5 separate regions of the Homo sapiens genome follow, and regions 2, 3, 4 and 5 are each linked to region 1. The links are contacts of gene promoters, found by promoter capture Hi-C in blood cells and fetal thymus (Javierre and others, 2016). All regions are on one chromosome and are shown on one strand. Each heading gives the region's core, a stretch centred on a gene start or on the middle of the fragment in contact. The rest is flanking DNA. Distances are from core to core; before and after follow the strand shown.

Region 1 (5,826 bases), core at 1,981-4,480:
GCCGGGTGGGGATGCCTCATGATGCAATCATCATTACTAAAAAAAGAACAGTGAGAACTGGAGGTGGCTGGGGGCACTCCTCAAAAACATGAGAAGGTTGACCCTGGGTAGGTAATTGTAGCTCATACCTCCCTTGCAATCAAGTAACTTTTATCTCATGAGCAATCTCATTTCTTCACTTGTCAGCTTACAGGGAGCTGGGAGCTGCCACCATGTGGCTATAAAGTATTACTGTACTTCCAAGGACACAGAAAGGAGCGCTAGACTATTGTCACTATGATCACATGCTCAGAATAGAAAGGGAGTGGGGACATCTTCAAGCTCAGGCTCACCCAAGATGTGCAGCAGGTGATGCCCAGAATCACCAGCTGAGTTCCAGGCCCCGTGGCCTACCCAAGTAGGGTTGCCGTGTGGGGAACTGGCATTCTGCTTAGTTATTTTAAACGCTTGAGAATGTTGAAAACTTGTTTGTTTCTAATATATTAAAATACCAGTTCCTATGGTGTTTTTTGTTTTGTTTTGTTTTGAGATGGAGTTTCACTCTTGTTGCCTAAGGCTGGAGTGCAATGATGTGATCTCAGCTCACTGCAACCTCCGCCTCCCGGGTTCAAGGGATTCCCCTGCCTCAGCCTCCGGAGTAGTTGGGATTACAGGTGTGTGCCACCATGCCCGGCTAATTTTAAAATACCAATTTCTTTTAAACTTAAAACGAATGTGAAAGTGGAATCCTTCACTGTTGTCCCCCAGCTCCGCCCAGACTAGAACATTGTGAGGCTAATGCCTTTCTAGCAACAATATTTTAGTCCCCAGCGCTATTCTAGCAGCAGGGAGTGCTCAACTGACGTGGTTTTTTCACATATATTTAACATGGTTTAGCTCACCTGACTTATATATTCTAAATTAGTGATTCTAACTTAATCAGTTTTTTAAAAATAGGCTATCATTATAGAAATATCCACTTTGAAAATAGGCACAAGGTATTCAGTTTCTCTTTATGCACAGGAAATATCTATAGACTTTAAAGTTGTATTTATTATTCTTTTCAATAATAAGCTATTAATTTCAATAAAAATAAACTATTCAAATTAAAATATTCAGCAGCATCTCAGAGCTATGAATGTTCAGTTAAGCAAAGAAAGTTTTTTTTTTTTAATTGGGAGATTTTTATTTTATATTTTATTTTTGATGAGTTCTTTTTTATTTTTATTTTTTAATTTTATTTTTCCATAAGTTATTGGGGTACAGGTGGCATATTGGTTACATGAGTAAGTTTTTCAGTGGAGATTTGTGAGATCCTGGTGCACCCATCACCCAAGCAGTATACACTGCACCATATTTGTTGTCTTTTATCCCTCACCCTCTTCCCACTCTTCCCCCCAATTCCCCAAAGTCCATTGTATGATTCTTATGCCTTTGTGTCCTCATAGCTTAGCTCCCACAAATCAGTGAGAATATACAATGTTTGATTTTCCATTCCTGAGTTACTTCATTTAGAATAATAGTCTCCAATCTCATCCAGGTCACTGCAAATGCTGTTAATTCATTCCTTTTTATGGCTGAGTAGTATTCCATCATATATATCTGTATATACACATATATATACATATATATGTGTATATATATGTGTATGTATATATATACATATATGTGTGTATATATGTGTATGTATATATATACATATATGTGTGTATATATGTATGTATATATGTGTATATATGTACATACACATATATACACATATATGTGTATATATACATATATGCGTGTATATATGTACATACACATATATACACACATATATGTGTATATATGTACATACACATATATACACGCATATATGTGTATATATACATATAGATACGCATATACACATTTTCTTTATCCACTAGTTGATTGATGGGCATTTGGGTTGGTTCCACGATTTTGCAATTGTGAATTTTGCTGCTATAAACGTGCATGTGCAAGTATCTTTTTCGAATAATGACTTCTTTTCCTCTGGGAAGATACCCAGTAGTGGGATTGCTGGATCAAATGGTAGTTCTACTTTTGTTCTTTAAGGAATCTCCACACTGTTTTCCATAGCAGCTGTACTATGTTATATTCCCCCCAGCAGTGTAGAAGTGTTCCCTGATTGTCACATCCACACCAACGTCTACTGTTTTTTGATTTTTTGATTATGGTCATTCTTGCAGGAGTAAGGTGGTATCGCACTGCGGTTTTGATTTGCGTTTTGCTGATCATTGGTGATGTTGAGCATTTTTTCATATGCTTGTTGACCATTTGTATATCTTCTTTTGAGAATTGTCTATTCATGTCCTTATCCCACTTTTTGATGGGATTGTTTTTTTCTTACTGATTTGTTGGAGTTCATTGTGGATTCTGGATATTAATCCTTTGTCAGATGTATAGATTGTGAAGATTTTCTCCCACTCTGTGGGTTGTCTGTTTACTCTGCTGACTGTTCCTTTTGCAGTGCAAAAGCTCTTTAGTTTAATTAGGTCCCAGCTATTTATCTTTGATTTTATTGCATTTGCTTTTTGGTTCTTGGTCATGAAATCCTTGCCTAAGCCAATATCTAGAACAAGCAAAGAAAGTTTACCTTTTATTTTATCTGTTTACTACTTTAAACAAGGTAATGTGATAAAAAGGTCATGTTAAGGTAATCAGGGTTAATGTATCACAGATTGTGTTTTAAAACTTGCTTACTGCAACCTTAAGTATTGGTATAATATAATCTCAAATTGTCTCTTTCAGAATTCTCATGCAAAGACTCCCGGGTTGCCACAGAGATCCCTGTCCATAGGGAGGCTCTTTCCCATCTCTCCTCCCTCCCACTTTAATTCCAAACTCAAAAAGGCAGATTAATCTAAGCTTAAAAAAGGTTTTAGTAGAAATAATTTGAAAACCCCAGAGCCCTGGGATATTGTTGGAATAACGATTTTTAGTGCTTTGGAAAGTAAAAGTTGATTTTTCTTTTCTTTCATTCTTCCCCATCCCTTCCCCCTTAATAAAGTTATCATTCTTGTCATTTTCTAGTTTTTTTTGTTTGGTTCAAGAGGATAAGATTATAGAAAATAGTCACTAACATATCCTGCTATAGAAAGAGATGATTGGACCTTCTATTTGGAAACCAGAACAAACAAGGAAACAAAGAAACAAATAATTCTGCTTTCCGATAGGTGCTGGTTTTACTTCCGCTGGCTGAGCTGTTGTTCCTGAGGTCAGACCCCAGCCAGTCTTTTGTGTACGTGCAGGACCATGGTGGCTTTAGTTTCTACCCCACCCTTCCTAGGAACTCTACTTGTGGCAAACGTATGTTCAAGCTTACAAGTCAGCCCACCCCACTCTGATAAATGCAAGAAAAGCTGAAAAGGGAGGAGCAAGATGGGATGAAAGCATCTGGGCCAAAGTGACCTGAAAACCTTTAGAGAAGAAGCTGCTGGCTGAGAAGGAGGTGTGTGGCTCCGGTGAGACCACCAGCTTGGAGGACTGGTCATCAGCTGCACGTTCTGGGTCTGTCTTGGGTATTCCCATATGGCCATGAGATCCGGGAGGCACCCCTCGCTGCTGCTGCTTCTAGTGCTGCTGCTGTGGCTGCTGCAGGTAAGCTGAGCCTGCAGCCTAGTGCTCAGGTGCAGGGAACTGAAAGCAAAGCACAAGCTGGCCCTGCCCCTTCTAGGCTAAGGGAGGGGAGAGGGACTGAGTGTGACCTGCTGGGACCCAGGGCTGGCTGTCTTGAGAATGGCTTAGGTAGCAGGGGCTCTGGATTTATATAAAGGGAAGTTAAGGGTCCCAGTCTGTTTGGGGCAACAGTGGGAGCAGGCTAAGGGACCTGTTTAAAACTAATTTATATAGTTCACACTATTTTTAGTGAGATTACATCAACACACACGTGTTTTCTTTCTTTGTTTCTTTCTCCTTTTGTTGAGACAGGGTCTGGCTTCATCATCCAGGCTGGAGTGCAGTGGCATGATCAAGGCTCACTGCAGCTTTAACCTCCCAGGCTCAGGTGATCCTTCCACCTCAGCCTCAAGAGTAGCTGGGACTACAGTAACTTACCACCACGCTGGCTAATTTCTGTATTTTTTATAGAGATGGATTTTCACCATGTTGCCCAGGCTGGTCTCGAACTCCTAAGCTCAAGTGATTTATTCGCCTTGCCCTTCCGAAGTGTTGGGTTTACAGGCATGAGCCACCTCACCCAGCCAACACACACAATTTTTTTTTTTTTTTGAGACAGGGTCTCGTCATCCAGGCTACAGTGCGTGGTGACATCTCAGTGCACCGCAACCTCCTCCTACTGGGTTCAAGCAACCTCCTGGCTCAGCCTCCCGAGTACTGGGACTACAGGTGCACGCCACCATGCCCGGCTAGTTTTTGTATTTTTATTAGAGACAGGGTTTCACCATGTTGGCCAGGCTGGTCTCAAACTCCTGACCTCAAGTGATCTGCCTGCCTCAGCCTCCCAAAGTGTTAGGATGACAGGCTTGAGACACTGCGCCCTGCCAAGTTTTATAATGATACTTCTGTTCACACTTTACATAAGATTGAGGAAATCTCAGTTGTCTGGATCCAAGGCAATTTGAGCAAACCCATGGGGATGGAATGGCTAAATCCATTGCCCCCAACTGCCACTGTTTAAATGGGAATACAAACTAGTGGAGTCAGGATTCGAAACACATGGGCTTGCTCTGTTTGTACTTAGAGTGGACAGAGGTAATGTTGCATGCGCTTGTTGGTTATGATCTGCTTCGTTGGCTTTCTGTAGGTAGGGAGAGGGAATCATTTCTTCCTTTGAATACCAGCTGAGGGTGGGAAGCAGCCCAGTGGCTGGTAACTGTGAGCTCTGGACTGGGCTGCTTGGCGTCCTGACCTAGGCTCCTTCACAGCCCGCTGGGGACCTAGGCCAGCTTAACTTTGTTCCTTACCTTGGATCAAGTTGAACTTACCTAGGGAGCTTCAAGGGATCTCAGTGCCTGGGTTTTGCCCCCAAAGGTTCAGGTTGAGCTGACCTGGGAGTGCACTGGGTGTCAGTGCACTGGTTTTAACATAACCTTGTTAAGCCTATTTTTCTTCACCTGAAAATGGAGCTAGTAACTGAATTTATCTGAGCCAGTGGTTGTACCAGTGAATGAGGAAATGCGTAAAAGCCCTTGGTACTGCGAAAGTTGTCAGAATCAGAATGGAGTTCCTTATGTTAAAACACACACACACACACACACACACACAGGCACAAAGCCTGATATATAGACACAAAGAAGGTTATGAAAAGGGGGTTCTCACATTTGTAGGCTTGATAACTAAAACTATCACAAAAGCTCTGCAAAAATAACAACTTTGCACAAAGGCCGTTAAAACCTTACACAAAAAATACTTTTTCGAAGAAATCTTCCCAGCAACTTTTTGTGCAAACTCAGACCAGTGTCACCCTTCTTATTGATCTTTGTAGCCAAAGATAATTATTTCAAAACAATGATATAATCCTTCTCATTTTTTCCTTTGAAAACCTTTATCTCCCTTTACCTCCCTGACTCTGCACATCGTTTACCATGGCACACATATTCCCATGGATATGTCCTTGCCCAGACAAACGTCATCTTCTCTTAGAGAGCCTCTGTCTACTATTAGGTTCACAGTTCAGTAACGACCCAGCCGTTTTTCTAATCACAGTGAAAATGGTTGGCAATATTCATTCAGAGCTCATGCTAAAACTATTTACTGGATACCTGCTTTGGGCCAGGCACTGGGAATACACCAATAAACATAATAGGGGGAAAACCCTGTCTGAAAGTGGATAACTTGTTTGGTACCAGTTGCTTGAGGTTT
Region 2 (5,826 bases), core at 2,048-4,547, 240 kb after region 1:
ATGCCTCCCTCTCCTGCAGAACTTAGAAACACTGGCTTCAACAGGGCTTTAAGAAATAGATCAACACGTAATTCCCCAGATGAGAGAGGCAGAGCCAGCTAGGGAGGGAGAGAGAAGGCTGGCTGGGACCTGGGTGAATTTATTAACAACTTCAGGATGAGGTTGTGTCATTCAAAGAAGGTTTGCTGTGCTCAGGAAGCTGTGTATAAATCCCACTGGCAAATACTGGGAGTTTCATTTAGAACCTCTCTGAGGGGTAGAGAGAGCTTTAGCCATGGAGGCAATCTGGCCAGGGTGGCAAAGCCCATCAGGTGAAGCTGATGCATCTTCCTAACCCAGTGACATTAAACATTGAACACCCCTCCCTCTTCCTGTGTCTATTCCAGGCTCCCCAGGCTATGTGCTGATTATTTGTGGTACCCCCATTGTCTGCCTGCAGGGAAATAATGCAGGAATCATAGAGACTTTGAGCATCCTGTGCCCAGCATGAGTTACTTCTCATTCTAAAATCAAACAAATGATGCTCTGAATACAAGTTGGCTTCTTATGCCTACCATGCACGGGCAATCTTTTCAATCACCATGATAATTACAGGACATTTTGCTGCCATTTATTGAACACTTATTAGGTGCCAGGCTCCCCAGGAAGCCCTCTGTGCATATTATTTTGTGTCAATCCCCGCTCCAATCCTATGAGGTAGGATTGAGAGAGGGGATTAACAATCCACAGTGTGCAGGTGGCATCACTGGGATTTGAATCTAGGTGGGTTTGATGCCAGAGTCTGTGTTCTTGACCACAAAATGACAGAGATGAGTTACTGTAAGTTAAAAATTGGCATTTGGAGCTTAGACTTCAGCTGTAAAAACTTGGCATATGTGGGGTTGCCATTGTGAGAAGGATCAGCTCTTGATGTGCTGGCAAACCAGCATCTGTAAAGTCTGTGACCACAGCCTGAACCAGGGCACATTTGCAGGCTGAAGAGGACAGTAGAAATCATGATAATGTTGTATAACAATGATGGGGGTCATTGTTTAGAATGAGCTCCGTTTTAGGCGCAACAGACCAACCAGACCAGAATGGATTCATCCATACTAAGTGCCATGTAATCAAACTGACTCATACGGACCAGTTTTCCAAAAAACAGGAGATTCCTAGCAGCAGTTGGAAGAAGCCCCATTTGTCTGAAACAGCATGATACAGAAGTTCCCTCCATTTTGACCTTATAAGGAAAGTAACCTGTAATGCCCATTCTACTTTTTATTCCTTTTTTCAGCCATAAAGTCCATCTCCTTTTCTCAGCTTACAGGATCTTCTTTCTAAAGCTTTAGATGGAATGTTGCCTGACACATGACTCACTAATGAAAGCCAGCTACATCTCTAAACTAAATTGGTGAGAATGCTACTTATTTTTTTTAACAACAGTAATAAGAGGAAGAGTAGAATAGCTAAAACTTAGTAAATGAATATTTGGGTCAAGTGCTGTTCTATGTGCTTTACACATGTTAACTCATTAATCCTTAAAACAAGCCTTTGAGATAAAAACAATGGCATTAGCTGCATTTGGTAGATGAGGAAATGGAGGCACATGGGGGCGAGGTGACTTGGTGACTTGTCCAAGTCATACAGTGGTGAGGAGCAGAGCTGGGATTCAAGCTGGACAGCCTTGGTCCAGAGGGCACATACTTCACTGTGGATCTGTGCCATCCCCTCCATTATTCAGGGCCACAATGGAGGAGCTCTGGGCCTCCTGTGCTGGGTGCTGGCCTGGCCATCCTTTGAGGGGAGGGGGACACTGCCAGGCTCTTGTTGCAGAGGAGGAAGACTAGATGCCCTGCAGTGTCTGGGAGTACTTCTAGCTGCTTCTTCTCAGGTGAGGAGGAATCATTTGATCTGTCAAAATGAGTTTGGGCCAGTGAGGGTTACCCAGGTCACAAACTCTGGTTAAGCAGAAGAGGATCTAGTAAGAGCATGAGAACTCTGCTTGGGAAATGGCAAGATCAAGGGCAGAGTTATGGTCCAGGTAGCAGGAGCTGGCACCAGGCATCTCAACTCAGTGTATCTGGTGGGAATCAGGTTAACTCTTTTCCCTATCTTGTGTCATCTTGGCTAACAGAATATCTGGGGGTTGGTGGAAAGAGAGCTCATGAGATTGCCCCAGCTTGAGTTCCAGTGCCCCTTTACCCCAACATTGCTAAGCAATGAAGCAACGGCAGGGCATCTTGACTTATAGCCAGTAACCAGCCCACCCCACCAAGCAATGGCAGGGCACCTTGAATGACAGCCAGCCTACCCCACTAAGCAATGGCCGGGCACCTTGACTGACAGCCGACATACCCCACTAAGCAATGGCCGGGCACCTTGACTGACAGCCGACATACCCCACTAAGCAATGGCCGGGCACCTTGACTGATAGCCAGCCTCCCCCACTAAGCAATGGCAGGGCACCTTGACTGACAGCCAGCCTACCCCACTAAGCAATGGCAGGGCACCTTGACTGACAGCCAGCCCAGTGCACTAAGCAATGGCAGGGCACTTGACTTATAGCCAGCCCATCCCACTAAGCAAAGGCAGGGCACCTTGACTTATAGCCAGCCCACCCCACCAAGCAATGGCAGGACACCTGACTTGCAGCCAGCCCACTCGACTAAGCAATAGCAGGACAACTTGACTTGTAGCCAGCTCACCCCACCAGCAATGGCAGGATACCTTGACATGGAGCCAGCCTACACTACTAGACAATGGCAGGGAACCTTAACATACAGCCAGCCCACCCCACCAAGCAATGGCAGAATACCTTTACTTATAGCTATCCTACTCAACTAAGCAGGGCACTTTGACCTCCCACCAACCCAAGACCATACACAGTGGGAGAGGGGCAATTTCCCCAAAGGGAGATGGGCATTGTGCAAAAAGTAGGGAAATAGATGTTGGGGTAGCCCAACCCAAGCAAATCCCCTAAAGAAGTGTGTGGTCCACAGCCACCATATTGGGTAAAACAGGGGAGGCAAGTGCTTTGGGTGGTGACTGCAGAAGAGGAGAAACAGTCCCTAACATTCTGCCAATTTACCTGTTAAAAGTCCTGTGTCTCTTCAATGGGTCCTTGCAGTCTCTAGGGAAACTCAATTTCCCATAAATGATGGTTAAAACAATAAAATAATTTCATCAAACTTGGGCATATTACATTTGGCTATCTTTAAAGTGGAAGAAAGTCTGGAATCATCCATTTTCCCTCTCATTACCTTTAATTTCCTTGCCATCATTTTTTTTAAAACCAAGTTAAATCCATTAAAAAGTCAATGAAAATGAATGGGTCTTTACTGGACATGCACACAATGTCCCTTTATGCAGAAATTGCCCGAAAAATTGCCAAAGAATTTACCTCCATAATTGGGATGTCTCTAAAAGTTTAAGAAAGTGCCAGTTTGTCAAAAAGAAAGGTAAAAGGAGATGAAACAAGTTCAAAGGTATTTCAAAAGGAAAAGACTTCAAATGGGAAGTTTCCAAATGATTCCTTTGGTCCTAAGGATAAGATATTTGTGCAGAATAGTTGGCTGGAGGTGCTGGTCCCTCGACACTGCTATGTGGAGGTGAGACCTGTGAGTGCTTGAAGAGAGAGAATGCCAGTGTGCATATCTGCATCCAACAGGGACAGGGGCCCACATATTTTATTGGGAGCAGTTGCTTTTAATTTTTGTAAGGCTTTGAAATTACCAAAATTGGGATGCTTTTGCTCATCATGAAATGGCTAAACTTTGCAGTGAAGGTGTTCTAAAGTAATGTTCCCGAAGAGAATGGACGGAGCACCTCCCTGACCTGCCCCTGCAAATCCTGCTGACTCTTCTGCACAAATACCTTTTCCTACAGTCCCCTCCCCACTGAGAAATCCAGCAAGGCTGGGACTCAGCAAGTGGCTTAGAGCTGTGAGATATGAGACTTCAAGAATGAATGTTGTATAGAAAGAACTTTTGGTACATTGGTCCCTGGAAAAACACAGTTCTGCATAACATTCTATTTTTATAAAATGAATTTTTCTGTGGTCAGTTAAGAGAAACCCATTTGAGCCCTTAGCATTGTGTACATTTGTGTATTCAGGTCTCTTGGGAATCCTACACAAAAGAAATTCAGATAACTTAGTGAAATTCAGTCTCTTTCAAATATATTGAACAATATACCCTTTGTTCCAAGGAATATATTTTTTGGAAATGCTCTTTTTCTTTTTTTTTTTAAGTTTAAGTTCTGGGATACATGTGCAGGATGTGCAGGTGTGTTACATAGGTAAACATGCACCATGGTGGTTTTTTGCACTTATCAACACATCACCGAGGCATTAAGCCTAGCATGCATTAGCTATTTTTCCTGGTGCTCTTCCTCCTCGCACGACCCCTCCCCCGATGACAAGCCCCAGTGTGTGTTGTTCCCTTTCCTGGGCCCATGTGTTCTCATTGTCATCTCCTACTTATAAGTGAGAATATGTAGTGTTTGGTTTTCTGTTCCATGGATAATGGCTTCCAGCTCCATCCATGTCTCTGCAAAGGACATAATCTTGTTCCTTTTTATGGCTGCATAGTATTCCTCAGTGTATATATACAACATTTTCTTTATCTAGTCTATCATTGATGGGGATTTCGGTTGACTCCATGTCTTTGCTATTGTGAATAGTGCTGCAATGAATGTATGTGTGCATGTGTCTTTATAATTAATATTCCTTTGTGTCTATACCCAGTAATGGGATTGCTGGGTCAAATGTTATTTCTGGTTCTAAGTCTTTGAGGAATTGCCACACTATTTTTCACAAGGGTTGAACGAATTTATATTCCCACCAACAGTGTAAAAGTGTTCCTGTGTCTCCATAGCCTCACCAGCATCTCTCGTTTCTTGACTTTTTAATAGTAGCCATTCTGACTGGTGTGAGATGGTGTCTCATAGTGGGTTTGATTTGCATTTCTCTAGTGATCAGTGATATTGACATATTTTTAGTGATCAGTGATGTTGAGCTCTTTTTCATATGTTTATTGTCTTTGAGAAGTGTCTGTTCATGTCCTTCACCCACTTTTTAATGGGGTTGTTTTTTTCTTGTAAATTTGTTTAAGTTCCTTGTAGATTCTGTATATTAGCCCTTTGTCAGATGGATAGATTGTGAAAATTTTCTCCCATTCTATAGGTTGTCTGTTCACTCTGATTGTAGTTTCTTTTGCTGTGCAGAAGCTCTTTAATTAAATCCCATTTGTCAATTTTTGCTTCTGTTACAAATTGCTTTTGAGGTTTTCATTATGAAAGCTTTGCCTGTGCCTAGGTCCTGAATGGTATTGCCTAGATTTTCTTCTAGGGTTTTTATAGTTTTGGGTTTTACGTTTAAGTCTTTAATCCATCTTGAGTTAATTTTTGCATAAGGTGTAAGGAAGGGGTCCAGTTTCAGTTTCCCTCATATGGCTTGCCAGTTTTCCCAGCACCACTAATTAAATAGGGAATCCTTTCCCCATTTCTTGTTTTTGTCAGGTTTGTCAAAGATCAGATGGTTGTAGATGTGCAGTCTTATTTCTGAGTTATTCTGTTCCATTGGTCTATGTGTCTGTTTCTGTACTGGTACCATGCTGTTTTGGTTACTATAGACTTGTAGTATAATTTGAAGTTAGTGGCATGATGCCTCCAGCTTTGTTCTTTTTGCTTAGGATTGTCTTGGATGTACAGGCTCTTTTTTGATTCCATATGCATTTTAATGTAGTTTTTTTCTAATTCTGTGAAGAATGTCAATGGTAGTTTAATGGGAATAGCATTGAATCTATAAATTACTTTGGGCATTATGGCCATTTTCACAATATTGATTCT
Region 3 (5,826 bases), core at 2,126-4,625, 210 kb after region 1:
CTTATTTATTCTAGCTTTACATTAACAAAGGTTATGTGATAGAATAGCTTTCAAGAATGCTGTTTCTAGAACTTTCTGTTTGGTCAAAGAATGAATATTATACAGTCACAAACACATGGCCAGCCACCTGAGGAAAGGCAGCATCTAAATGACACTATGAGATAGGAAGTTCAAATAGTCAAGTGTTTATTAAGGTGGGTATTCTGAAGTCTCATCAAACTTTAGCCCACATATATTGAGCAATGACTGTATACTGTATGATTTACTGTGCCTTGGGCATGCAGATATATTAATGACATGACCTCTGGTGTCTAACAGGGATGATCTGCTTATAACAGGTTCTACATCAGATTAATTCAAAGAAAATGGAGAAGAGGACTTATAGTGAAATGTCAGGAATTTTATGTTTTTCAATAAATGGAGCTTCATTCCTAGACCTACTGATGGAATGAATAGAGTAAAATTCAATTTTAGGATTTTTGTTCCAAAAGTCCTTACAGCTAAGGGGCGTAGATGTTAATCTCTGAAATGGGTGAGTTTGTTTTGTCTTAAATTGTGTACTGCCAGGATATATGATGTCAGACAAAATAGATTCAGGCATTGATTTCCGGGTGAGTTTAATTGATTGCTATTTCTTTCTGCTTGACTAGAGATTGAGGTTTGCTGATGTTTCTGCATGTCTAATATAATTTCCATTTGGTATTTGGCTTGCTTATGTAAAGGAATACATATTCAATTGAGTTGAGAAAGACCAGACCATGGTTGTTCAAAACCCTGGGGATGTGGCTTATGCTTGTTAGCACTTAGTCTTCTCTGGTTTCTACACACAGTTTCATTGTGACACCAAGCTCCCTGTCAACTTTCACCACAAAATAAGTACAAAAATATTTACATGGGTGTAAAGACTGATGGTTGCCTTAACATCTATGGCCAGTGGAGGGAAATAACTCATTAGAAGGATTAGAAGACCTGGGCCAATTTAAAATTATGTATAAATGCCAGATTCTAATGAGCATTTCAGCCACAGTGGGTGACAGTAAATTAATGTAAGCAAGGTTTGTCTTCTTTTCTTTACTTTCTCAAATCTCAGTGGGAGACATGTAGAGTTGGGGCCTGTTGCTACCATCTCAAGTACAAACATTTCTTTATGTCTGTAGTGAAAGTGGGGATCTGTTGTTGGGTCATTTCAGCCCATCTCAACAAATGCAGGTATCGAAGTGTGTGTTTGCAGGATGAAGACAAGCTGCATTCCAGGAAGAAAGTTTTCAGGCAAATAGTTTCAGGACCAATCATCAGTTATATCAGGACAAACAGGACTTCTTCATGATCGAGGGAGCCCAGGCTATTGTCAATTCCTGAAGCTTCCAATACATTGAAAAATGAAGGAATCTTGAAACAGGTTATAAAAATTGGATATATTTATATTCTTTTCATTGAAGAAATTTATGCTTTTTACACAGTCAAGTGCAGTGACTAAATGCGTGATCTTACTTGAGGATATGTCTAGCAATTACTCCCTGGACATTTGGGAATATAAGGCCAATACCATGAAAGACAGAGGGCAGAGGAAGAAGGAAGCTGGATTTTAGGCTATGTCACTGAACCACTGAATGACTCCTCACCTGAAATCCTCAGGTAAATGTCCTACTGCTATACTCTTCGTAGTTGAGCCAGTAAATTATTTTCTAAGTCAGGATGAGTTAGGTGCTGGTTCCTTGCAGCTGAAATCATCCTAGCTGATGTGGACCTGCTTCTGCCCAGTGCCTCCACCCTTTAACCACTCTTAGCACTCACACAATGCTGAGGCTGTCTTCATTTAATTGAAAGGTTAATTATAGGTGGAGGTCTGTTGTAGAATATGTGGTTATTTTGGTCTCTGCAACAGTAAACAGGTTTGACAGTGCTCTGACTGACTTGACTGGATGGATGGATTGTTGATATGACATAATTCTAGCTATTAGCTGTCAATCCTTTCATCCTGAAAGATGCTGTTTTCTCATTTCTTTACACTGGTTTGACAATTTATACAGCTTGAAATGCTTTCCTATGCATTATCTCATCTGATCATAAATCCACACTTGGGGTTATAGAATAGACATTTTCTACTTTTTCAGTGGAGGAAGCTGAGACAGCAGCCGCCCCAGGCCAACATAAACATAGAATCCAGGGCTCCCCATGAAATGTGTGTGACCTCCCTGGCTCCACATGGATGGGCCAGTCTAATCAGTGTCTGCATTGTTGGTCTGCATTAGGCTATAAGCGACTGAATACAGTGACTCAGACCAATCCAAGCAGCAAGGATATCCATGGTGCTATGTAACAAGAAATTCGGAGTCAGAATGCGGTCTAGGCATGGATGTCAGGCTCTGGAGACTATCTGCATTTTTCTGGTCTCCCATTGCCTTTGAGGGATTGGCGTCATCCTCCAGAGATGGCAAGGTGGCCACAGCTGATCCAGGCATTATCTGACTCAACAACATCCAGGAGCAGGACCTTCTCTTCTCCTGTTCTTTATTGGAGCCTGGAAACCTTTTCCATAAGGACATGCAGCAGACATTTCCATTTTATCTGCACTGGGTCCATGCCCACTCCCCCATCAGTCATTGAAGGGGAAAGGGAGCCTATAATCCTCTTAGAATAACCTGCTGATGAGAATCAGTTGTTGGATAGTGAACCACAGTAACCCCCACAGCATGCATCTAAAATGCGCTGACCTAGAGTATGCAGCAGGTGAAGAAAGTTGGCCTGGACATGGTGGATGGCTGCTGTCACAGCCCCTCATTTGTTCATGCCTCTCTGTGTCCTGGTATTTGCGTCAGTGTGGTCCACTCTCACGCTGACTCAGGACCTGGCCAGAGGACTTGTTTAGGTCAATGAGAAAAAAATCAAATATTACACAAAGGGCTTGTCTTCTATTTGCTCTTGGGAACTGTTACGGACTGATTGCATCCCACTAAAATTCATAGGTTGAAGCCCTAACTCCCAATGTGACTGTATTTGAATGTAAAGCCTTTAAGGAAGTAATTAAAGTTAAATGTGGCCAGAAGGGTAGGGCCCTACTCTGATAGGACTGTGTTCTTATAAGAGGAGGGAGAGATACCAGAGACTACTTCCTCTCCACAGGCTCACAGAGGAAAGGTCACATGAGGACAGAGCAAGAAGGCACCCGTCCACAAGCCAGGAAGAGAGGCCTCACTGGAAACCAGTCCTGCTGGCATCTTGATCTTAAATTTCCAGCCTTCAGAACTGTGAGAAAGTGAAGTCATATTGTTTAAGGCCCCCCATAGTCGGTGGTATTCTGTTATGGCAGTTCTAGCAAACTCATACAAGAACTTTACAACCACCATCCCAAGAACAAGCCTGGGCAGGCCTGCTGGGTGATAAAAGATGGGACACCTAGGTACCTTCATGGCCTCAGCCTGCAGCCAGCCAGCCTGTAGGCAGGCACGTTAGTTCAATGACCACCAGCTGACCACAGATGAGTGAGTCTAGTGAGACCAGTAGAAGAGCTACCTACTTGAGCCCAGCCCAGGTTTCAGACACACATAATTAAAAGCCAAATAAATGCTTGTTTTAAGTCACTGAGTTGTGGGGAGGTTTGTTATTCAGCTATACGTAATCGACACATGTAGGATATAGAGGTTTTCAGCCACATACTCAATTGAAACAACTTGAGTTGCACATCCTTTGTTGGTCTGATTGGGAATGCAATTTATTGACACTGTTGGTCAAAGCCATATCTACAGGGATCAGGTAGTCAGGCAAATGAGCAAGACAAGCTGCATAGAAAAATAATCATCAGGCCCTTTTAGTTTGAGTTTTGTTGTACATATTTGGATAAATGTACAGATACAGAAATAGCCACAGACCATAGGAAAGCAACTGTCTAAGAGAGGTGCCGGATGACAACTGGTACACACAGTCTCAAGGATGGGGATTCAGTAGGGAGTGGTGGGGACTATGGGGAGCTGGAATGAGCATGTCACTAACAGAGATAGCCACTGTTCCGCTCCAGCCCTTGTTGCTATGTAGGCATGTGGGCCCAGTGTTTTGCTATGAGAATTTCCAATTTTTCAACAAATACCAGAAATCTGGATTTTTATGTAACATTTTATATTTTTAAAACACTGATTCACTTGGAAGTAAAACACTGAACAGGCAAAATAAAACTCATTTTAGGCTAAACTGCCACTTTGTAATGTCTGCTCTGCACAAACTGGCTAACAGTAGAGTTAGAAGTCAGTAAACTACCCTGATGTCAAGTGGCTGGTTTGGCTGAGTTTTTACTTTCCTATTTGTTTGGGATTTGCATATTTATAGTGTACAGATGCAAATGAAAGGCTTTGCAGAAAAGTGGATTCTGAATCCAAAATATAATAGACAGGAAATAAAACAATGAAAAAAATACAGTCTTTGATTGCAGGTCTTTCTGCCTCCAAGCTCAGAGAAAACAAACAAAATGCAAAAACCTAATATGGGTAAACCCAGTAAGAAAAGTTTTTCAAAATCAGAAAACAAATAAATGGGGGTTTGGACCTTTGCATTCCAAAATTATTCTCAGCCAGATGGTGAATTTCTTGAATTAAGTCAGGGACCAGATTTTATTTATTTTTGTATCCAGGGCAGCTGGAAGCATCGAATCAAGTTTAAGTGAATGAATGAATCAATGAATGAATATTTCACATGGATTTATAGGTAATTAACATATGGCCCATGTGTTGGGGAGTGGCCCTGTGTGCGTTACCACCATGCTGTTTGGAGTCAGGAGACATGGCTTTTTATCTGACCTACTCTTCCGTTTTAGCCACATTAGTTATGTAACCTCTGTGTGTCTCCATTTCTCATGTGTGAAGTGAGGATAATAAAAAATGCATACCTGTTAGTGCTGTGAAGATGCGATGGAACCTGCCTGTAACTGTACTTCATGGCCTGACATGGAGCTCGGGTCCAGTAAATGTTTCTGAGGTTGATGCCTAGTTAGTTTTAAACAGTGGATTACCAGGGGAGTGGGCAGGAGAAGATGACACCTACTTTACTCCTCTTCAGGGACACGGATTTTGAGTCCAGCAACCTGAATTTGGACTAGCTTATGCCAACACATTCTTTCTATGGATTCTGTGAGAATCAGCTCAGGTCACCTCTTGGGCAGAGGTCTGAGGAATCTGGAAAGCAACCCAGTGCTGTTTCCAAAGCATTGTCAACAGCAATGAGGCAGATGCTGCCCTTGGGAATGATTCTTTGCTACAGAATTGGCCATTTTCAGCAACACACAGTGATGTTGTAATAAGGAGATAAAACATGTGAGTCTATAGCCGGCCTTTTATGGGGTGTTCGATGCATCCCAGTTGTTCTTAAATAAGCAAAGAGAAATTGCATCCTCTAGGCCGGTGGAAGCTTGCGGCTTTTCATTTTCTGCCTCTTTTTGGGTATTGTTGCTTTCCTTTTCACTTTGCTCTAATAAGGAATGTTCTCTCTAGAGCAAAATAAATGCCAATCTTATGCGTTTCTGAAGGGAGAGCTATTGTGGTTGGAAACTACTGAATAATTCTCAGAGTATTATTTTGTCATTATTACTCAACCTTTACTATCATATTCCTGATGTTGGCTGGGACCTCCTGGTCCTCTGAGGCACATAGACAAGGTCAGGGCCAGCTCCCATCACGTCCCATACTCGGAAAGGAAAAACCTGCACTGAAACTTCTCCTCTCCTCCAGTGGGCAGCAGGGTGAGCGGTGACTCAGAAGGTGGGAGCTCATTCTCATGGCTTCTTTGCATCCCAGGGGACACCTGCCTTGCCTGTGGGCTATTTTGCCCCATGTTGAACCA
Region 4 (5,826 bases), core at 3,327-5,826, 180 kb after region 1:
GAAGGCAGGAAGAGCCGAAGTCAGTGTGCCTGTTGGCAGAGGTAGGGGCCAGGACAATGCCGATATTGACAGCAGTGAGAAGCCAGCACCCCCACATGGGGAGGTAGGCATGGGCAGCAAGGTCCCTTTAGAGGTAAAGGTGGAACACCTCTGTTGCTGGGCTCCCCAGGCTTTGGGTGTCCTCTGGGCCTGGTCTCATGGAGTAGTTCAGGCTGGAGACTCAAGACTGCAGAAGACGCTATGGCGAGGGGAGATCCACCTTTGTGTGGAGTTTGGCTACCAGTGATCTGTGCATTGAACTGAGAAACCACCTCCTGGACCCACGTTTCTTTTCACGTGAGCATTTTTGTGATGTGGTGGTAGACTGAGCCAGATTATGACCACAAATGATTGCTCAAGAGGCGATCTGTTAAATATTTAATGTGCAATCACAGTTGCTTGCTGTGGAGCTCCTTCTCCGTCTGAGATGAGTAGGGTCTATTGGCGGGCAAGTTCCAATTTAGTAATGAGATCATTATAATCCTGACCTCCTCGGAAGGATCCTTCACACCAGAGCAAGCCACTTCTCTGAATTCTCTCCACCTCTTCCCAGCATGAATTTAGTTCTCACAACTCTCAAAGGAACTCCCATTTCCTGTTTCTCCCCTACTCCTGACCTCACTCTCACTCCCCTTAGCAAAGTTGTTCTGTCCTTCCAGACTCCTTCACGATGGCTTCGCTTCATCTCACAAATGAGACGCTGAACACTGCTACTTCCACACACTGTGCTTTGTCCCTTCAGGGACAGAGCTGGGGCCTGGTTTCAGCTCATAAAGAGCTCACAGTCTTGTGCTGTTTCTTGGACCAACAGAGTCAGAAATAGCAGAGGTTCTTGTGAGCACATAGAATGTTCTGGAGCCCATCTCAGATCTTTAAATGAGACACTTTGGGGTCAGAGTCTGGCCTCCTCCTTTTACTACACAAGACCCCTGGCTTGGTTAGGGGTTCACCCTTACACCAAACTCCTAGAGTGGTTGATGGTTTCACCCTCTGTGGTGGTTGATCTTAGGTGTCACCTTGACTGCGCCTCTGGGTGCCCAGGTTAAACATTGCTTCTGGGTGGGTCTGTGAGAAGCCTTCCCAAAGAGATTAGCATTTGAGTTGCTGGACTCAGCACAGTAGATTGACCTGCCCCACAGGGATGGGCATTACCCAATTTGTTGAGGGCCTGAATAGAACAAAAGATAGAGAAAGAAGGAATTCGCCTTTTTTCTTGACTCCCTGCTTGAGGTGGGACATCTCATCTCATCTTCTCCTGCTATCACAATAGGATTTACACCTCAGCTCCCCTGTGTCTCAGAGCTTTGAACTCCAATTATACCATGGGCTTTCCTGGGTCTCCAGCTTGCTAATGGCAGACTGTGGGACTTCTCAACCTCCATCACCACCTGAGTCAATTTCTTTTTTCTTTTTTCTTTTTGTTTTTTTTTTTGGAGACAGAGTCTTGCTCTGTCACCCAGAGTGGAGTGCAGTGGTGTGATCTCTGCTCACTGCAACCTCCGCTTCCTGGGTTCAAGTGATTCTGCTGCCTCAGCCTCCCGAATAGCTGGGCCTACAGGCATATGCCACCATGCCTGACTAATTTTTCGTATTTTAGTAGAGATGGGGTTTCACCGTGTTGCTCAAGCTGGTCTCAAACTCCTGAGCTCAGGCAATCTGCCCACTTTGGCCTCCCAAAGTGCTAGGATTACAGGCATGAGCCACCGTGCCCGGCCACAAGTCAGTTTCTTATAGTAAATCTCCCCACACCCATATGTGTGTGTGTGTGTGTGTGTGTGTGTGTGTGTATATATATATATATACACACACACACATATATGATATATATATACACACATATATAATATATATACATATATAATATATATATACACATATAATATACACATATATAATATATATACACATATATAATATATATATACACACACATATATATAAGATATATATAATATCTCCTATTGGTTCCGTTTCCCTGGAGAACCCTGACTAAACCACCTTCCTAGAGAATCTAGAAAGTAGACTTTGCAGGAACATTTTCTCCCTTTTGCTAGTTGTTTTGTCTTGTGTGAACCTGAAAGAGCCCATTCTCCGAAACAGCTCTTAAGCATCTAACTGGGCCTAGTTTCCAAATAGAGCCAAGCAGCCATTTGCTGACTAGAGGTCACACACATACTCTGTGTTCCAGGAAAGCACACACCCTTGCCATGTAACTTAGGGACATTCAAGGCTGTTTTTTCCTGTTCATGCCACCTGAATCAGTAGCTGTGGGAAAACCTTATTTTCCTCCTGGACCTGAGCAATAGACTGTGACAGCATCGGCCAATCAGAACTGAGCAGTTTACATCCCACAATTGCATAAGTGGCCCAGAGTGGGAGGCTGGGTAAGAGCTTTCTCTATCAAAGACAACCACTCTCTTGGTTCTCTCCGGGCCCACCTTTGTTTTGTACTGAAGGCTGCATCTCCCCAGTTTGCAAACTGCTTGTGCAAATAGAGTCTCTGTTAACCTAATGCTTCTTTCTCAGGTGTTTGGTTAACACTTGTACATGGTAGGCATTCTGTCTATATTTGTTGGGCAGATGTGTGCGTCGAAGTGGTTAAACTTTCCCAGCCAGAGTGGGCATCTCCTCTGGGGTAAGGAGTTGGTGACATGCAGGTACCTGAGGCCCTGCCATGGGTGCATGGGCTGTGATTGTCCATAGACCACGTTAACTTAAACTTCTGGTCTAACACATAGAGTGGGCATCTTCCTAGGAAACCCTGGAAAAGCAGCAGATAGGACTGGCTCTCAGCAGTGACGAAAAGCAATAAGAGGACAAAATGTGGTACTTTACACAATGGAGTACTATTCAGCCATAAAAAAGAATAAGAACCTGTCATTTGCAACAACAGGGATGGAATTGGAGGTCATCATCTTAAGTGAAATAAACCAGGCACAGAAAGACAAACATCACATGTTCTCACTTATTTGTGGGATCCAAAAATCCAAACAATTGAACTCATGGAGATAGAGGGTAGAAGGATGGATACTAGAGGCTGGGAAGTGTTGCGGGGGTGAGGAGGACGGACATGGGGATGAATAAGACCTAGTGTTTGATAGTACAATAGGGTGAGTAGAGTCAACGATAATTTAATTGTACATTTAAAAATAGCTAAGAATATAATTGGATTGTTTGTAACACAAAGGACAAATGCTTGAGGAGATGGATACTCCATTTTCCATAGTGTGATTATGGTGCATTGCATGCCTGTATCAAAACATCTCATGTTCCCCATAAATATATACACCTACTGTGTACCCATAAAAATGTAAAAAAATGATTAAAAGTCTAGATATAATTTAAAAGAGGAAACTGTCTTTGTGTGGAGGCCAGCTGAAGACAGATACTGCATCAGGCACTTGGCAGCCTGGTTTCCAGTAGCTTCTCAACCCAGTGGAGTAGACTCTATGGCCCCATTTTGCAGATGAAGAATGGAGGTGCAGAGAAATCACAGCTCTAGCTTTGTCAGGAGGACCATAGAGGTCCAGGGGCTGGAGGTCTGAATATTTAATAGAGGGATTTGAATAACCATGGAAGTTAGCCTGGAGAGAGATTTAGGAGGCAGATAAGCCTAGTGTTCACTGTGGGGGCAGATGCCTTCCCCATCTGTGCAGACGATTGGCCCAAGTGGCCATGATGACATGGCTCCTACCTACTTCCTAATGGACCTCAGAGAATTAAACAGCGAGGACAACAGCGAGTGTTGTCTCTCAGACCCTTGGCTTTTTCAGGACTGCCTGACCTTTCTTTGTCCTTATTTGGCTTCAAGTCAAGTCAGCTCAACCCTGATTGAGCACCGGCAATGAGTCATGTCTGTGAAGGCGACACAGCCCCTGTCCTTGAGGAGCTTCGAGTCCAGTGACTGTCACTTCAGTGGAAGTTGGGCTGGACACAGTCACATGTGTATGCCAGACATGAGGCTTTGTTCTCATTACAATAATTGCCCTGCATTATTCTAGCAATTAAGCTTCTCCACGTGTGTGGATGCATGTTCCCAATTTTTTCTGGCCTCTACCGAACACAATGTTAATATTTGAGAGCAGTCCTAAAAAATTAAATAATTATACAAACTGAATTAGGATAGCATAATATTACCAATCAGAGTAATGTGGCTTTGTAATCCAGTGTGATGTCATATGAATCTACAAATTAGGAAGCATGTCAGAGGAGGAAACCACATCCTTTATTGCTTTGCCTTAAATAGCTTAAAACTAATCTTTTCCATGAGCCAACAGCTATCTCTCATGTTTAATAATGCTCCTCCCTGCCCAGATGAAGCTAACTAAATGATGTTGCCCCCTGCACCTGCAAATGCCTGGTGCCAGGGCAGGGACACAGGGAATGGCAGAAGGGGAGACCAGATGTTGGCTGAGGCATTGATTTATGGGCATGACCTTCCATGTGCCCCGAGGATGGCTGAGACCAGGGTTTGATGAATGCAGTGCTCTGTGTGAGAAGTTCTAAGGTGACAAGCAAAGATTCTATCCTCTGGAGGGGCAAGCCCTATTATTAGGTTGGTGCAAAAGTAATCGCAGTTTATGCAGTTGTAATGGCAAAAACAGAAATTACTTTTGCACCAACCTAATACCAGACAGAGGAGGTGCAAGTGCATGCCACCAGGGCAGGTGCAGGTGATGGGGGCAGAGAAAACTCAGATGTCTCCAATCTGTGCAGAGTAGGGAAACAGAAAAAGCTAAGTGAGGAAAGTGAGATTGCTATCACACAGATGCATGTCTTAGGTTTTCTGATTCCATTCCTCATGAATTTCATTAAGTAATCAAAGTGCTAAGCATGAAATGTGGGTATGCTGTCACCAGGTGGCAGCAGCATCCACTCTCCAAAATGCATTTTGTTCAAACCTAGTATGTGCTGGGTATTCTGAGCACATAGCAGAGACTAAGGCAAAGAGTCCCTGGCACTGTGGAGCTTAGAGGCTAATGAGGTGGCAGGTGCTTACACTTTAGAAACCGTTGTGAGGAATAGCTAGTGGTAGTTAAATGATACAGTGATAGTTAACAGAGAGGAAAGCTTTTCTCTCACTCCAAGCTATATTTTTATTATCACTATTAATATAAATAGAAAATAAATATTAAAATAGTTATTAAATAAGCAAAAGATAATGTTGCATTTAGTTATACGATTAAGTAGAGGTTTTCAAATATTTTTTAGCTTTGTGCAACCGAAATTATATGAGGAAGCAAAAACCACAAATACAGAAAATAAGAACTTTTCTGTTTGAACAGAAACGAGGACACTGGGGAGGCCCTTCCAATGCAGGCCAGACTTTTAGGGGCTCGACAGAACACAGCTGGAGAAACATCCACACCACACGCGGTTTCACCTGCCACACGGCAGCCCGGGTGCCCGGATCACTGTGTGTGGAGACTCAGGCTCACCGGCAAACCTCTTCCGGTTCCGGTCAGGGTGCTGCCTCCCTATCCACTGGGAGTCCTTTTGCGTTTCAGATGCTCCCAGGCTCTCCCGCAGTTTAAAGACTTAACTCAGCGGCTTTCAGGGCCTGTGGTTGAGGGACTCCGAAAGAACTGTTGCTGGTGGACCGGTTCAGGGTCTTGACTTCGCCACACAAAAGAACTTGAGAGCACGTCCAAAGTAAAGGTAAGCAAGGGAGTTGATCGCACAGCGAAAGCGCACTCTGCCAGCGGATCGGAGCGGCCGCTCAAAGGCGAGGCAGTGCTGGCCGACACTGGGGAAACCCCCTTTATGGGGGTCTTACATGATTATTCA
Region 5 (5,826 bases), core at 2,473-4,972, 160 kb after region 1:
AAGCCACTAATTTATACTGATGACAGTTGTAGGACAAAAACCCCTTACCTGCCTGAAAACAGGCATTTTAAATAAGCAATTTATTGCATCTTGAGGCTGGGCAGCGAGGAGCTTTTCCACTCTTCTTGCTCCATTTCCTGAATTTTCCTTCTTGTGAATGTAGAACACACGCCATGGGCCACAGAGTCACTTTGGCTTTAATCTGCTTTGTGGAGTTTGAAATTCCTTCTCAGGGTCCCCTCTTCTCTGCTTGCAGATTTCGATGAGTTCTTGGCTGACTTCAAACCTGGAACTGCTGTGGTTTTGGAGATCCGGGTGGGCTGCAGCTGAGGCCTTGGACCCAGCCTCCCCACCCACTCCTACCCTTAGGATCTGGCTCATTTGAATGGTCAAAGCTTCATTGCTAAAAGCTGGGCTTCAGACTCTTCATTTAACAGCTGGGCTGGGTAGGTTGGAAGGCAAAGGCCCAGATCGTGGCCGCAGGTGGGCGTTGCAGAAATGGGCTGTCCTTTCCCTTGCTGACCTGTGTTGACCCCATCTCTTGATCTCAGCCTCGCTCCGGCAGCATCAGCAGCAGCACAGTGGCCTTTCCCTCCACCTGGAGTGCCCGTCCCCAAATAACCACACACTGCTCCCTCCCCAGCTGATGCCAGAGTGCAGCCTGCTCACCTCCTCTCATCATGGCGTCCAGCAGGGCCCCCTCTCCTGTCATCTCCCCTCCCTGGCTGGTGCTTGCTTCACAACTCTTGACACCACGTGATGTATTTTTATGTTTTTTTTATTAATTGTCCATCTCCCCTCCTTGAATGTAATGCCAGTGGAGCCAGGGGATGGTGTGGGTAGTTGTTTTGTTCATTTGAATTCCTAGTGCTTCATACAGTGCCTGTTTCCTGGTAGAGGCTCTCTAAATATTTTTTGAATAAATAAGTGAATGAACGAGTGGATGATATGCAGCAGACACTTGGAGTCCCCGCTGTGCACCAGGCACTGTGCTAGGACAAGAACCACACTTGTCCTTAAAATGGTTGCCATCTATTGGGGCTGGAAATGAAGTCAGGGGAAGTTGCACGAAGCAGGTTGATTCTCTGGTGGGGCCGTGCGTGGTGAGGAAGCAGCACAGGGAAGTGTGCCTAACCGGGTGGCAGATGGGGAGGGCTCCTGAGAGAAGTGAGTGCAAGCTGAGCTCATACCCTGGTAGTCTGTGCCTGTGTGTAGCGGGTGATAGCTGTGGGGGAGGCTCAGTCTCTCTGGAGCATCTGCACAGTGAGGACAGACCGCCAAGGAACTCCAGGAACAGGCATGGGGCAGAGGAAGAGAAGCCCTCAGACCCAGTGCAAGGAGAGAGAGTGAGCCAAGGGCACAGTCAACTACGTGACCTGGTGCTCAGCAGGCAAGAAGGAGCAGGAGAAGCATGGCTACTCACTGGAACAAGGAGGCTGTGCTGGGGGCCAGGTAGCCCAGGCCAGACCGCAGTGCAGAGAAGAAAGTATTAAAGGCAGAAGCAGACACAGTGAAGGTGGGGGCTCTCCAGGGTTGGCTGGCAAATTTTTCACATGGTCTAATCCCCACTTGACCCAGTTGAGACCCAGACTGCTCAACTAGACACAGGTCGGCCTGACTTCGAAGTGTGAGTTATGTCACTCTGATAGTGGGTCCTAAAGTGCAGATGTGTTTGGGTGATGCTTTTCAGTAGCCTATGGACATGGCACCAAGTGACAATGACTTCCGTGCCTAAGGAGTGTTCTGAATGCAGAACAGGGAGCACCTCCTCCGGGTTGGGAGAGATGCCTCTGCCCCCACCTGCCCAGTATCGGCCTCTGTGCATAGCAGTACTGGGCTTTCCTGGAACCCATGTTTCATGACAAATGAGGCTGGAGATGAAGTCAGCAGGAAGTTGCATGAAACCGGTTGATTCTCTGGTGGAGCTGTGCATGGCAAGGAAGCATCAGCACAGGGAAGTGTGCCTGACCGGATGGCAGATGGGGAAGGATGCTGAGAGAAATTAATGCAAGCTGAGACCATATGTGCACTGATAGGCTCCTCACCACTCTACTGGGTCGAACAGTGTCCCCCCTATAATCCATGTCCACTCAGAACCTCAGAATGTGACCTTATTTGGAAATAGAGTCTTTGCAGATATAACTGGTTAAGATGAGGTTGTACTAGATTAGGGTGGATCTTAATTGGCCAATGTCCTTATAAGAAGAGGAAAATTTGGATGCAGAGATGGACTGAGAAGAAGGCCATGTGAAGAAGGCCATGAGAAGAAGGACTGGAGAGGAATAGCTGCCAGTCATTGATATAAAAATGGAGTCGCTACATCAACCATAGTAAAATGGGGTGCAGCACCCCCACCACATGCCTGACTTATCACAAGACATCCCTGCTTGTATGCCTATGACAGGAACTATGCAAGGAACTCCTCAAAAACACAGGATTCCAGGTAAGCCACTTATGGATGCACATAACTTGTCCAACACTGGCTGCTTCCACCAATGAGCTAACACCAACTCCCGGAATAAGCCCCTGTGATCAATGGTCTTCATTTCAAAACAACTTAAGGTGGACTTCTCCCTTTTGTCTTTAAAAGCTTCTCCTAGTCCCAACCTCTTTGGATGTGCTTATGGCTCACCAGAGAATGCATATCCTGGATTGCAATCCTCTGCTATTCCCGAATCAACTCTTTGGAAAGTCTCTCTCTGTGTTGTTATTTTACAAGGCCAAGTAATACCAGGGATTTCCAGCAACCACCAGAAGCTGGAAGAGGCAAGGAAGGACCCTCCCTAGAGTCTCCAGACAGAAGATGCCTCATAGACACCTCGATTTCAGATTTCTGGCCTTCGGAAGTGAGAGAGAATAAATTCCAGTTGATTTAAGCCACCTGGTTTGTGTGCTTTGTTGGCAGCCCATGAAAGTCATATCATGACTTTTGCAAACTGACCAATTAATAATTAAGAAAAATGGCCTGAGATGGTAAACTGATGAGCATTTTGAAATTCACAAAAATTTGTTCTCACGTTTGTTATCCTGGGTGAATCTTCTGAAGCTGTATGTTAAACACACAAGATTCCTATGTAAACCATGATGTCTTCACAATATTGAGCATATTTTATCTTTTAAAAAAGTAAATTACCCATTCTTGCACAAAAAAGTAGATTTTTGTTGATCTATATTTTTATTTAGAATAAATTTGATGAAATCAGGTGGTGGGACAGCTGGCCCAGCTTGGAATAATGATCCCTCTGGATATATCCTTGTCTTGTTCTCATTTACAACTTTTGAGGCATAAAAGCATATTTTCAAAAAACCAACGCTTCTATATGAAAGCAGATTTATCATTCAGATCCATCATTAATTTCCCAATGACGTTCTGCCTGCCCATAAAAAAGACTTAGAGCTCGTTATGAAAATTTTATTCCAGAGAAAATGGTCTTGGGACATGGTTTGCACTGACCTCTTTTAACCTCTTGTTCCCTGTGTTATTATTATTAAGTAATAATGTTGCTTCCTGCCATTGCCTGCCAACATAACTCTTCCCTCTTTGTACTTCAGGAATCTGGGGACGGTTTTGGTTGCAGAGGGCAGATCAGCACTTTGCCATCGCCCTGTGCTCCTGGCCAGTCCCCATGCCGCTGCTGGGATGACAGTCTTACATCATCTTTTATGAGTACATCAACTTATTTGCAATTACGTTTAGATTGTCTAATAAAACCGGGTGACATTTTAGCTTACAGTTTATGTCCCAGTAAAAGGCTCCAAATGTTATTGCCATAAGAATCTATGTGGCAACCCAACATAAACCTTTTATTTCTAGCTGGACAGCTGACTCTGCGTTTAGCAACAGGAAAGCAGGGAATTGGAGGAGCGGGTTTCGGGGGGCGGTCGTGACAGCAGCCACCTCCTGCGGGTTTTGTTTTCTCTGTCAGGTTCCCCTTCTAGCACTCAAAAGCATCCAGCACTTTCTGAAAAGGAGGCCTGGGAAATGGTTGGACATGTCTCTGTTGTGGGCTCTGGGTGTGAGCCACAGAAGTGAGAGCTGAAGAAACCTCAGAGACCATCAGGCTTCCTCGTGGGATAGTTTTGGGTCCTTAGGAAATTAGGCCTTGGCACTCAGCTTAGATGACTTCCATTACAGTCCTATAGGTGTGAAATAAACATCTGGCTCAGAGGTTCTCCACTGAGGGCCACCATGGGTCAGTGTCTGGAGACATTTTTGGTTGTCACACCTGGGGGCAGTGCTGAGACTACTGTGTGCGCATTCATCTAGCGGGTGCAGGTGGGATGCTGCTGACACGTAACATGCACAGGGCAGCTCCGCCACAGAGAAAGATCCAACCCCGAATCTCGGCATGACGGAGGCTGAGAAATCCTGATCTAAGTGATAGCTTACTAAGCAAGGCCTTGGCGTTCAGAAGCGGTTGCCTGATTTCCTTCTTTCCTTTTTGAGTCATGGTTTTGTTGAGTTCTTGAAAGTGATAGACCTGCTGTAAATAAAATCACTGGATAAAGTTGGCGAGGGGTGGCCTGCCAGCCTCCAACCCCTGCCTGATGTGGGGTGCGTGGCCGGCCAGCCTCCAACCCCTGCCTGATGTGGGGTGCGTGGCCAGCCAGCCTCCAACCCCTGCCTGATGTGGGGGGCGTGGCCGGGCAGTCTCCAACCCCTGACTAATGGGGGGGGCGTGGCCGGCCAGCCTCCAACCCCTGCCTGACGGGGGTAAAATAGTGAAAAGCAAAAGCACCTGGTGTTTTTAGGAGACAGGAGACACAACAACTGAATATGTGGGCAGATTTGGGGGAAGAAAGAAATGAGCCCCAATGACCTGCTTCAGTTTTCTATTGAAAGAAATGCAACTTGGAAGCTTCATTTTTTTTTTTTAAGCACATCCTTTAAAAACATTGCCCAGTGCGTTTGGAAGTAGCCTTCCAGAAACCCTTGGGATTTATGACCCCAAAGTATGCTCACAGGTGCTCCCAATGAACCTTTAGGTGTAACGTGGATGAAGTGTGGAATGTGCCGTGACTCCTGCCTCTTAAAAGCTTACAGATTCCAGAAATGAAACCAGTTCATGCATAAAATATCTTCTCTCAGAGCACGGTCATTTTCATGCTTCCCCTTGTGTGATGATCAGGGTTATAAAGTATTGTGGTTATACCAGAAGATCCTCAACTGTGTGGAAAGAGGCTCTTCTATTTATAGCTCTCCCCATCGTGACTTACAGCATATGTGTTAATCTCCCTGTGAATTCTGAGCTCCCAAATGCTGAAGGAGATATGCTAAACCCTTTCCCCGTGGCGTTCTTCCAGACAGAATTTAAGAGACACCAGAGGATGGCACATTTATACTGAGCTTGCAGTTTCCTAAACATGAAGAAGATGAACGGCTCTCAGTTAAGCAGCACGGGTCAGATAGGAGCTTGAAATTGAATATTTGAGCTGACACGGGAGAGACATACTGTGAGTGGCCCCACGAAGTTAGCTGGATCTCTAAGCTTCCTAAGACACCATGATTAGAAATAGATTGAGGTCAGGGTATGCGGTCCTATTTGAATTAATGAAAAGCCAAATTGCTCCTCAGAGTGCTGGTTTTTGTGCTGCAGGTCAGACCACTGGGTTTTGTGGACCCTTTGCAGAGGTCGGGGGAGCAGCTGGGCTCTGTCCTTTTCTCACCTTTCGTCTTCTATCTCTTATAGTTTGAGATTCCAAATACGATTTCTGTGGAGAAAACAAAAAAGGACTCTGTTTTTAATTCAAAAGGTGAGGCATGGTTAATTAAAACATTGATGTGAACTGTTTTAAAAGAAAAAAATAATTGGTTTACTTTTGAGT

What was found. Contacts are between HindIII fragments. The CHiCAGO score rates a contact against its expected background, and 5 or more counts as called.
Region 2: a fragment that was not itself captured here is called in contact with the fragment with the promoter of CDH26 in region 1 in 1 of 17 cell types (neutrophils); the score reaches 7.2 in neutrophils.
Region 3: a contact is called between a fragment that was not itself captured here and the fragment with the promoter of CDH26 in region 1, in 1 of 17 cell types (neutrophils). The highest score is 6.1, in neutrophils.
Region 4: a contact is called between a fragment that was not itself captured here and the fragment with the promoter of CDH26 in region 1, in 1 of 17 cell types (neutrophils). The highest score is 5.0, in neutrophils.
Region 5: a contact is called between a fragment that was not itself captured here and the fragment with the promoter of CDH26 in region 1, in 1 of 17 cell types (neutrophils). The highest score is 6.1, in neutrophils.

What each region holds. Positions count from the first base shown.
Region 1 is chr20:59,955,193-59,961,018 of GRCh38, forward strand. CDH26 (cadherin 26) reads left to right here and starts at 3,231. Exons shown (of 18, transcript NM_177980.4): 1 at 3,231-3,603. The coding sequence starts at 3,535. The HindIII fragment of the contact is 452 bases long and covers 2,870-3,321 here.
Region 2 is chr20:60,191,208-60,197,033 of GRCh38, forward strand. All of the region lies in intron 3 of MIR646HG (MIR646 host gene), which reads left to right. Among named protein-coding and RNA genes, the nearest start is that of MIR646HG, 56 kb to the left of the region's middle. The HindIII fragment of the contact is 3,955 bases long and covers 1,321-5,275 here.
Region 3 is chr20:60,167,222-60,173,047 of GRCh38, forward strand. All of the region lies in intron 2 of MIR646HG (MIR646 host gene), which reads left to right. Among named protein-coding and RNA genes, the nearest start is that of MIR646HG, 32 kb to the left of the region's middle. The HindIII fragment of the contact is 4,033 bases long and covers 1,360-5,392 here.
Region 4 is chr20:60,132,948-60,138,773 of GRCh38, forward strand. MIR646HG (MIR646 host gene) reads left to right here and starts at 5,545. Exons shown (of 5, transcript NR_046099.1): 1 at 5,545-5,697. The HindIII fragment of the contact is 1,061 bases long and covers 4,047-5,107 here.
Region 5 is chr20:60,112,054-60,117,879 of GRCh38, forward strand. No RefSeq gene overlaps it. Among named protein-coding and RNA genes, the nearest start is that of MIR646HG, 24 kb to the right of the region's middle. The HindIII fragment of the contact is 2,269 bases long and covers 2,589-4,857 here.